3 separate regions of the Homo sapiens genome follow, and regions 1 and 2 are each linked to region 3. The links are contacts of gene promoters, found by promoter capture Hi-C in blood cells and fetal thymus (Javierre and others, 2016). All regions are on one chromosome and are shown on one strand. The core of a region is centred on a gene start or on the middle of the fragment in contact, and the rest is flanking DNA. Distances in the headings are between cores, read along the strand shown. Region 1 overlaps MYO5B (myosin VB). Region 2 overlaps MYO5B (myosin VB). Region 3 holds the start of LIPG (lipase G, endothelial type).

Region 1 (3,625 bases), core at 129-2,628, 280 kb before region 3:
ATGACTTTCCCTTTATCTCTTTTTCTGTAATATGTTGTATTTTTTCCCAAATTTTAATACATAATAAATGTAAACTCAAAAGGTACAAATGCATATACAGTGAAAAAGCATAACCCTCTTAACCTATTATGAACTTGATTCATGGAAAAAAGCAGGAGTGTTCATGCGAAAGGACACAGCAGTCGGCACGATGCATCAGTATTTATTAGACACTTGCTTTGAACCAAGCAGTGTACTTGGGCACTGAACATGAAATCAGAATTGAGAAATGAGAGCAGTTACATTTTCAATCGGAAGAAAAATTATGTGTAGATGCATTACTCACTGTGCTCTGCAAAGGCTGGGAAGGAAAGTGTACCTGGACCTATTCATAATGCTTTCCCCAGGTTCTTACAACACAAGTAGGTTATGAGTGAATCCCAAGAAGGACCAATCTAGAAATACATTACTTGAAATGAGGTTCATTCCAAACCCTCCTTCCTGTCTGGAAATCTTTTTATAAGGCACCAGACAGAGGGAGAACTGACATATCAAGCTGGAGATACTCAGAATAATGTGAAGGTTAATAGCAGCAGTTCTGGAGTCAGACAGACTTGGGTTTAAATCCTGGCCCTGCCACTCCCTATCAGTGTGACCTCAGACAAGTTATTTAACCGCTTTATACCTCAACTTCCTCATAAAAATGGGTAGTACTTTATAGAGTTGTTGGAAGATTGAAAGAGATACTGAACATAAAGCCCCTGGTGCATAGGTAATGGCTGCTTAGTAAGTATGACGGACCAATGAAGCTCTTATTTACATAGTCAGTGGCTGGACGAGGATGACACCCAGGTTGCTCAATTCTCAAACTGTGGACTTCAGCACAGGCGATACCAAATCGAGCTGGTACATGCCCATCATCTTTGTCTAATTGCCAGTAAATTAAATGAAAATGCTGTCCACAGCTGTTTTATTCCATACAGAAATCAACACATTAGAAATTTTTTGCCAAATGTTATAAGTTCCTAAGCATGTCAACATTGCACACCTCTGGATGGTATCATTGCTAAAGCCCGGAGCACTAAATGATTTGAGTGGTCCAATCTTTGCATTGTTAGTGGGGAATGCAAGCTTCTCTAACTGTGCTTTTATTTCAGTTTCTGCCATGTTGGAAAATGAGAGCATTCAGGGTCTATCTGGTGTGAAGCCCACCGGCTACCGGAAGCGCTCCTCCAGCATGGCAGATGGGGATAACTCATACTGCCTGGAAGCTATCATCCGCCAGATGAATGCCTTTCATACAGTCATGTGTGACCAGGGCTTGGACCCTGAGATCATCCTGCAGGTATTCAAACAGCTCTTCTACATGATCAACGCAGTGACTCTTAACAACCTGCTCTTGCGGAAGGACGTCTGCTCTTGGAGCACAGGCATGCAACTCAGGTAAGGGAGGAGCACCCCCCAACAACACAGATAGAGTGGGCCCTCACTGACTGCAGCTAGAATCAGAACACAAGACTGCTGTTTCTAAAAATGAAATCCAAATCTAATTGACAGTCCTTGTCTCCATCAGTCTGTGACTCAAATCCATCACCTTTTTACCTGTTGGTGAAATCCGTCGAACACTGAGATGGTTGACTTGGTAAACAAATTAGTTCAAAGCTTAAAGATGTTGACATACTCTAAGTTAAAGACTGAATACAAAGCAGATAGGTCAGAGAGAAAACTCAATGAGTTAAGAGGCATGAAGGCTCACATAGAAGTATAAATACATTTGTGAATGTTAAATATAAATACTTACAATTCAGTATATTTAATGCCTGTTTTTCCCTGTTAACTTATGTAGACACTTCAGGTATTTCATCTTTGCTTGATTTTAAGTACCCACTCATTCATTTATTCATTCTTTATTCAACAAATAGTTCCTGAGTGCAAGGCACTTGCCATGCTTTTTAACCGTGTGAGATAAATAATGGCACTAGCTGCAGCGGGCCTGCAAAACACAACAGGTGTCCCCTTCTCAGTGAATTAGGAGGACCGGCTTAACATAGCTTGCTTTCTACCTATGGCTAAGGTACAATATAAGTCAGCTTGAGGAGTGGCTTCGGGGAAGAAACCTTCACCAGAGTGGAGCAGTTCAGACCATGGAACCTCTGATCCAAGCAGCCCAGCTCCTGCAATTAAAGAAGAAAACCCAGGAGGACGCAGAGGCTATCTGCTCCCTGTGTACCTCCCTCAGCACCCAGCAGGTACAGTCACTTTGCACCTCTGTCAACATGGTATTCCAAGGAAGCCCTGAGTCCATTCCAAGTCTGTTCTCGTTGGTGGTTATTTGTTAGTGTTGCACTCCCACCCTTTATATACCCCTAATGAGACAATTTTGAAGTGCAGCTGATGGGATATTCCTAGATGAACCAAAAACCATTTGGTCTGTGAAACAAGATGCCACAGATACTGTTTTCTAGTAACTCTCTATCCCTCTTACTCACTTAAAAAGATAAGGTAGCAAACTCACAAAACGTTAAGTTTAGGTAAAAACTTCTTTAAATATAATGAATTCTGGAATGTTTCTTACATAGAAATCCACAAATTTTCAGAAATTGGCAGCATCAGGTATTTGCTTTCTTTACAAATATAACTGTAAGAAAAACCTTTTCTTTAAAACTAATTGCAATATGGTCATATTTTCACTCACACTCATTTATATTGTTTTAAATGAAGTCATTAAGAACTTAGGGGCATTTAAGTGTTACTTTCCTTTTCCCTAAAAAATGTATAACCATGATTCAGTTGCCGACACATTGCCAGTCCCTGAAAGATAAATAACAAAATCCAAACTCAGTACAGAAAAACACATCTTAATATAGCAAAGTGAACACCTTTCCTTACCTCCTCTGCTTACTATTAAAATATTAAATATCTAACTCTTTAAAAAACTGCTTCCTTCTGTAAACATTTCCAGAAAGTCTTCAAACATTTTTCTTCTCTTTAAATACATTTCACTTAAAGTAAGTTTCCTTCTAGATGCAGCTGGCATTGCATTTGGGCAGTCTACTTCCACCAAACCAGTGGTAGGCAGACAAAAGAGTATCTCCTGTTCAAATACTCATTTGTAAACAATGTTGGGGGACAGGGGGTAGTTAGGTATTAAACAAGACCTTTCTCATCTAAGGTAAGATCTCCAGTACTCTTCAGAAGAAACCTTTAAATTACTAGTAGATATGAGGCTGAGGATTTCAGGCAACTGCATTCTAAACTCCTCATTGTGTATACCAATGAGCATAGTGGGGAGGGGCAGGTGGGTTTACAGGAGACATGAGTTCGGTGAGAGGGCTCAGATCCACCTGACAAAGCTGTGGGCTCTAGTTTCCTGGATGCAGGCTCCAAGTGTAAATGTCAGTCCAGCTCCATCTGTGTTGTGGGCCTTGTCTAAAGAGGATCATACTCTTGTACCAATGTCACATATTCTTTAAAGTTCAAAAGTTGTCTCATGTTCATTTAGCTCTGTGCTAAATTCCGTTTTTATCCCCAACAGATTGTCAAAATTTTAAACCTTTATACTCCCCTGAATGAATTTGAAGAACGGGTAACAGTGGCCTTTATACGAACAATCCAGGTGAGTTTTAAGATAGTAATTTTATAAAGT
Region 2 (3,679 bases), core at 493-2,992, 340 kb before region 3:
TGCCCTGAACAGGAGCCCAAAAGTGGTGCAGAGATAGCAATAGAATGCCTCTGTTTCCGTGCTCTTGCAAAAGACAAGGCTTTCTGAGAAGAGACTGTCACTGGGTGTTTCTCTGTGTTAGTTCTACAGGGTGCCTTGTTTGGCTTGGCTCCTTACTGGGGAAGCAAAGCAGAGAGCCCAGGCACAGGGTGGGCACAGGGCTTGTGCCTGCCCCTGGTCAGCCTGCTGTGATACACCAGGTCAGGGAGGAGGGCACATCCACTCAGAGGGAAAAGAGTGCAAAGGAAAAGGTCTGCTGTCTGGCACTGGCCCTTTGAAAAACACAAGCACAAAGCATGCCAAGGTGGCAGTGGCTATTGTGGCTGTTGACAGGAAGAAAAGACTTGCTTAGTCAAATGTTGTGAGTTAACCTTCCAGCCAGAGTGCAGTCTCAGGGATGAGTAGGCATTGACCGCTGCACCCTGCTGGGAGCCCTGTGTACATGCTGGCTCCCCCAGGCCTTGCTTTCCAGCCTTGGGGCTCTGCATTGGCATTGCTGATTTCTAAAGTTAACTTGAGAGGATAAAAATAAATCTAGCATTTTACAATCCACGTGCTTGAAAAATCAAAGAAAAGCAGATTTAAATGGCCTATTTAAAAAAAAAATAAAAAAAGCTTTTTGCCTTAAGCTTCCTGCTTGGCAAACATCTGTGAGTGGTGGCAGGTGTTAGCTACCCTGGGCAGGATGCCCTGTGTGTAGAGGGTGATCAGAAAAGACGGGAGGAGTGGATAAGCTCTTGCTTTCTTGTGCCCTTGCCTGCACTACCTGACTAGGCACGCTGTGCTCTTCTCACGTATTAACTCATTTAATCCCCACCAGAACCCTAGGAGATAAACATTAATATTATTCCCATTTTAAGGATGAAGAAACTGAGGCACACAGAGGTTAAGTAGCTTGACTGAGGTCACACAGCTAGTAAGTAGCATGGCTGGGATTGAAACCTGTCAGGCTGGTTTCAGGGTATGTTCTGCCACCTCTGACCAAGCTATAAGATATTTAGCTATTGGGAGACTCTTGGAACATGTCAGGAGAACTCCTCAGTCCAAGGGAGACTCTTAGCCTTAGTTTGGGTTCATGCTCATACAGATAGCATTGTCCTTGCTTGGGACCGGCTGGCATTTAAAGTGGGGAGTGTGACCCAGTGTCAAATAACATGCTTGACACTCTGTTACAAGAGGAAGCATTGACATAATCTCCATTAGAGCTCTATATAGGGGCTTGTTTCATTGCAATCTCTTAGCAGATGGGGCCAGCTGTTTGCAAGTGAATTTTTTTTTTCCTATAATTCCTGGAGACAACTTAGGCAGTGGTCCTCTGGTCACACAAGGTTTCTAAGCCAGAAGGGGAGGATCTGCGAACACCAAGGACACCACAGGTGAAGGTGTCCCAAGGTATTTGTGAGAACAGCATAGGGAGTAGACAGAGTGCCCACTGGACAGAGGCCTGGGTTCTGTCTCAGTTGTATTCACAACCAGAGCTGATAGCTTGGAAATGATTGGGGCTTTAGTTCTTCCAAGGGGATTCGCCTGAGATCTCTAAGGTAACATCTAGCTCAAAAATTCACTGATAACCATGATCTGGCTAGAGTAGGGTTCCTATCCCCAGACTGTGCTCTAGAATCCCCTGGGGAGCTTTTTTCTAAAAATGTATCCTCACTGCCAAGAAGTCAGTAAGGGAGGAAACAAAGATAAAACCAGGGTAAGGCTAGCACCCAACATTCATATCCTAAGGCCTTGTACACCCACCTGGAAAGAAAAGATGCAAATTTGGCACCAAGTTTCTATGCAAACAGTAACAGGAAGAAAACTGAGTGGCTTGAGAGTTCTTAATAGAAAAGAACCATGCAGTTCAAGAGGATTTGGAGCTGTCCGTGGTGCTGACTTGTTTTTCCTGTGGGCTTTCATAATCTGTGACGTGACAAGCCACATCCTTCACCATATCCTACGGTGATATATACAATGCTGGTTCTTGAGACCATTTCTTGCAGTGTCCCTGGGATAGGCTGTGGTATGACGTCATTCAGTAAAACGATGTAGTCCGTGAACTCGGCTCTCTGCCAGCCTAACTTTAGTCAAGCACACATTTAGAGTTGGCCAGTTTAACTTACAATTTATTTATAATGAGAGTAAAGTTCCTTAGACACTTATGAATATAAGGTTATCCTTAAATATATTTTATATGAGAAATATGACACAAATATATGGAGTCAGTAGCCTTTTAAATCAATTTGATTCCATATACTTAGTAGTCACTTTGTAAATATGTTAAATTCGTTATATGTAATCATGCATATATGTCATATACAGTCATGCATCTGTTAATGACAGGGGTACCTTATGAGAAATGCATCGTTAGGTGAGTTTGTAGTTGTGTGAACATCATAGATTTCGCTTACACAAACCTAGATGGTGTAGCCTGCTACACACCTAGGCTATGTGGCATAGCCTATTGTTCCTAGGCTACAAACCTGTACAGCATGTTACTGTACTGAATATCATAGGCAGGTGTAACACAATGATATTTGTGTATCTAAACGTATCTAAACATAGAGAAGGGATAATAAAAATATGGTGTAAAAGATGGCACACCCGTATAGGGCACTTACCATGAATGGGGCTTGCAGGCCTGGAAGATGTGTAGGGTGAGTGAATGTGAAGGTCCAGGACATTACTTTCCACTCCTGTAGACTTTATAAACTGTCCACTCCTATCGACTTTATAAACTGTCCACTCCTGTAGACTTTATAAGCCGTACACTTAGGCTACACTAAGCTTACTAGAAAATTGCTTTTCTTCAATAATTAACCTTGGAGTACTGTAATATTTTTACTTTATAAATAATACTTTTAACTTGTGGCTTCTTTGTAATAAGGCTTAGCTTAAAACACAAACATGTACAACTCTACAAAAATTTTTTATTTCTTGATATCCTTATTCTGTAAGCTTTTTTCTATTTTTAAAATTTATTTTTGGGGTATCCCATTCTTCATGATGTGCTTATTTCACATTGCATATCTATCAAAACATTTTATATACCCCATACATATACACACCTACTATGTACCCAGGAAAATTAAAAATTAAGTTTAAAAATTTTTTTTTACTTTTTTTTGTTAAAAACTAAGACACGGATACATTCATTAGCCTAGACACACACAAGGTCAGGATCGTCAGTATCACTGCCTTCCACCTCCATATCTTGTTCCACTGGAAGGTCTTCAGGGCAGTAACATGGCAGGGAGGGTTTCTGGGGTCTCCGAGGGTGTGGGCACCCCATGCCCTGCCCTCTGCCAGGCTTGGCTGCATGGCTGTGACACCTGCAGGTGCAAGGACGAGCCTTCTGGGGCCTGTCCTTCTGAAGTCAGATGTCCAGAACAGAAAATGCACCGCCTCCACAAGCCCCCAGTGACAATATCTGGATGCCCATGAAAAGACATAGGAGCTCCCCACCCACACCCCAGACAGCCAGAGACTCGGGCAACTCTCCAGGGTTCTCCATAGAGAACTTGAACAAGGAAGATAGCTGATGTTTACTGAGCCCCTAGCAAAGTACTTTATCTCCCTAATCTTGATAACCACCCTCTGAGGCAGGAGTTACTATTATATTCCTGTTTTACACATGAGGACACTGGGGCACAGA
Region 3 (3,717 bases), core at 430-2,929:
TCATGGCTCCTTCTCTCACCCCCTTCAGCTCTTTGCTCAATGGTCAACTTCTCCAGAAAGGCCTTCCCTGACCACATCATAAAATCGCACCACCTTCCCCCACCAACATGCCCCACCTTCCTCCTCTGCTTGATTTTTCTCCATAATACTGAGCACCACTGATACTTTAATCAGTGCACTGTCTGTCTTCCCACCACTGAAATGTAAGTGTCACAAGGGCACAGATTGCCATCTATTTTGTCCACTGCTCTCTCCCCTGCTCCCAGAATAGTGTCTGACACTAAGTAGGTATGCAGTAAATACTTTTTGCAATGAAGGAAATGACTCACACATACTCAGAGGCCCAGAACACAGAAGTTAGAAGGAACTTTAGCATTTTACAGGTGAGGAGCCAGAGATGAGACCTGCCCTAGGCAATGCTTCTAGTTAGCACCAGAGTTGGAAACATGTTGAGTAAAGCAAGGCTTTCCATTCATTCACAGTAACCCTCCCACACATACACAAGCCCACACAGACCATTTGGCACAACCTCAGCAGACTAGAAGATGAGATGATGGGGTTCAGTTTAGAGGCTCCCCAGCCCTCCACTGCTTATCAGCTGACTTAGTTCTCACTCTGATTCTGACTCCCCCAGAGCTGACTGACTCTGGCTCCCCCAGGGCAAGCTGCCTCCACTGGCAAAGGCTGCCATACAGAACCCAAGAGGAAGAGAAGCTAAAAGCCAGGAGGAGGAAAGGGAGGAGGAGTGGGAAGAGGAAGAGTCGGGGGAGCACAAGAGTGTTGAAGAGGAAAAGGCTGGCAACCTGGGGGAATAGGCCCGGCAGCTTCTAAGCACAAGCGACCCACCAGACGCTCCCTGCAAGCACGAATCAAACCAAAGCCAGCTACCCTGCCACCTGAACTTTCAAGACACCTACACCAAGATTAAAAGGCAGCTCCAGGAGACACAGCTCTGACAGCCTTCTTGCCTCTCAAACCTCCAGGTTCAGGCATGAGGACAAGGTTTCAGAGCTGCTGCCAGGCCGCTCGGCTGGCTGGACAGCACCAGCACTGGCTTAGGGAGCCGTATAAGGGAAGGAGGTGGGGGTGGGAGGGCTGGCAAGAGCCAGCGCACCCTGCCAGCCTTTGCCTTTTGCATGACTTGCCGGGAATGCCCCCATCAGACCAGCAGAGAGACAGGTGGACTCCAAGGTGGATTGGAGGAGAGAATGGGCAGCGCAGTGGGAAAGGAAGAATTTCATAGGAACAAGGAGGGTTTGAAGAATCAGCAAGACAGAGGGGACCCAGCACAGAGAAGTGGCTGGGGGGAATAAAAACAAATTCACGTTACCTTCCAGCCGTCCCTCTGGACCAAAAGGTACGGGGCTCCCCGCAGCAAAGCAATAGCAGAGGCTCCAGAAACAGAGCAGAGGAACGGAGTTGCTCATCCTGCCCCGCCACACCCCCTCCCAAGAAACAGAAGTTTTAAAAAACAAAAACCACCTCTTGGTGTTTCCAGCAATCCCGGCCGGTAAGACCCTTCTCTCGGCCAGGGGCTGGGGGACTGGAGGCAGAGAAGGTGGAAAATGAAAACTTGGCGGCACGGAGCCCGGGCGGTGGCAGGGAGCGAGTGTCAACGGCTTGCCCCAGAACGAGATCTGCCCTCGTCCTGAGCCGCCGGGAGGCAAGGACTCGCTGCTGTCACGCTCCTATAGAGGTAGTTTTTAAAAGTATGGGAGTCATCTGACCCATCGCCAGATGGTGATTTGCATAATTTATTCCCGTCTCTGGGCTCTGATTGGTCACACCTTGCTGACGCCGGAACCGAGACTGGAGAAAGTTTGAATGAAAGCGCTGCACACTCACCGCGTGGACGCCGCACGCTCGGCCCCGCTTCCTCCCGGGCCCGCTCCGCAGGCAGCTGCGACTCCAGCAGCTCCAGCTTTCTCCCACTGCCCTCCTCCGGACACCCAGATCCTCCTCTCCCCACTGCCATCCCAAGTGGCGGAGGCGGACATTTCCCTGAAACTCTGCGTCCGCTGGGGAGGCGATCCCTGGAGAAGGAGAGCATCCTCTCCAAGGCTCAAAGCCACACTCTCTCTGGGAGTGGTCTATCCGCTCCCTGGGCCGGGAGTCCGTCGGGGGAGAGCCACCTGGTCATCCCCTTTGTCCTCCTCTTCTCCCTCCCTTCCCGCCTAGCGAGGGCCGCAACAGGTGCAGAAGGCGCGGCCGCACAATAACCCGGCGGAGCTAAGGGGCTGTGAGCTGCGGCCGGCGCTGGAGGATCGCACAGTACCTGCTCGGAATGCTCGCTCCGCCACTAGCTGCAAAACTCCAAGCGAGCCAGCCAGCTTCTCCGAGGCGGTTCTCTCGTCCGCAATACGTGGGTGATAATGTATCGGCGGCTTAGGGATGTTGGGAAAACTAAGAGTTCACGTAGCAAAGCACTTAGCGAGGCGCGGAGCTCGTGGCAGGCGCTCTCCTACGGTGGGGTGGAGGGCTACGGGAACACCAGGCGACCTCCTCAAAGGGACCAGTGAGCCGAGATTTGGAGTCTAAGACGCGTGGCCAGAGCCCAGTGTCTGCCGATGAGCACTCACTCCTTGGCGAGTGAAATCAAGCATCTCCTTTCTCTCTGTTCTCCATCATTTCCTCCCGGCTCTCCTTCCCTTTATTGATCCGGGTCCTGCGGCAGAAAGCAGCGAGCGGAGGGAGAACTTGGCCCGGAGTCTGCGTCTGGCGCTGGGGAGCGGGGACTGAGCCCGGAACACCGACGGGGCGGCTGCGCCAACAACCACTGCGGACGCAGGGCGGGTACGAGAGGCTGAGAGGCTGCGTCCCGCCATCCAGCCTCGCTCCAGCCGGGAGGATCCGGCTCTTTAAGACGATACCCTTAACCCTGCAGTCGCCCGGAACAGGTCCTGCCCCTGCCTGGGGAGGGAAAACCCCCACAGCAGTCCCGCGCCCCTTCCTCCCTAGCGTCGAGGATCCAGCTGGAGAGACCTGTGCGAGGAAACCGAGCCGGAGCCAGCAGATCCTGTTCCGACCTCGCCTCATTACTTTTGTTACTCCAGCTGCCAGCAGAGCACGCTTTGTCCCTCCCGTGTGCTATCATTCATTAACAAGACTCAGGCGGGCTTTAGTTTTTTAGTATAGAACTCAATGGTCTGTGTGCGATGGTAAATATCACCCCCGGATATGTTGTTCCCACTCTGTCTCTCTCTTCATGAGGAAACTATACAGACATAGGTCTAATGTTATCTCCATTTTACAGATGGGAAAACTGAGTCATGGGGACAGGCTGCAGATTTGAAGAAAGTCTCAAGACAACCAGGTCTCTCTTCTCTGCTCTAGGTTCAATTTGGCCAATTGACCTTTAAATGTGAGCTCTTGGCAACCTGGTCTAGTGGCTGAGGCAGGGGGTAAGCTGTAGTCAAAAGTCCTCTTCCCTAACCCTGGCAACATAGACACTCATCTCTACCAAAAAAAATTTTTAAATTAGCCAGGCAAGGTGGTACACCTGTAGTGCAAGCTATTAATACTTGGGAGGCTGAGGCGGAAGGAGTCCTTGAGCCCAGGAGTTCAGGGCTGCAATGTACCATGATCACACCACTACACTCCAGCCTGGACATCAGAAGAAAAAAACTCCTTCCCTGTTCTGAGTTGCTCATAGCCATGGTCCCTAGAACATTAACTGGATAATGTGGAGAGTGTGTCTTGAGAGCCTTTGTTATAGGT

What was found. The method cuts DNA at HindIII sites, captures the fragments that hold promoters and counts their contacts. A CHiCAGO score of 5 or more calls a contact.
Region 1: a contact is called between a fragment that was not itself captured here and the fragment with the promoter of LIPG in region 3, in 1 of 17 cell types (endothelial precursors). The highest score is 5.8, in endothelial precursors.
Region 2: a fragment that was not itself captured here is called in contact with the fragment with the promoter of LIPG in region 3 in 2 of 17 cell types (naive CD4 T cells and erythroblasts); the score reaches 5.6 in naive CD4 T cells.

The regions. Positions count from the first base shown.
Region 1 is chr18:49,835,314-49,838,938 of GRCh38, reverse strand. It overlaps MYO5B (myosin VB), which reads left to right. Exons shown (of 40, transcript NM_001080467.3): 37 at 1,137-1,422; 38 at 2,054-2,228; 39 at 3,515-3,595. The region is part of intron 1 of SNHG22 (small nucleolar RNA host gene 22); the gene reads right to left. Among named protein-coding and RNA genes, the nearest start is that of SNHG22, 23 kb to the right of the region's middle. The HindIII fragment of the contact is 531 bases long and covers 1,113-1,643 here.
Region 2 is chr18:49,896,894-49,900,572 of GRCh38, reverse strand. All of the region lies in intron 21 of MYO5B (myosin VB), which reads left to right. Among named protein-coding and RNA genes, the nearest start is that of SNHG22, 85 kb to the right of the region's middle. RefSeq lists a silencer at 1,800-2,094. The HindIII fragment of the contact is 2,143 bases long and covers 671-2,813 here.
Region 3 is chr18:49,560,019-49,563,735 of GRCh38, reverse strand. It overlaps LIPG (lipase G, endothelial type), which reads right to left and starts at 1,679. Exons shown (of 10, transcript NM_006033.4): 1 at 1,331-1,679. The coding sequence starts at 1,427. RefSeq lists an enhancer at 972-1,472. The HindIII fragment of the contact is 7,229 bases long and covers 1-3,717 here.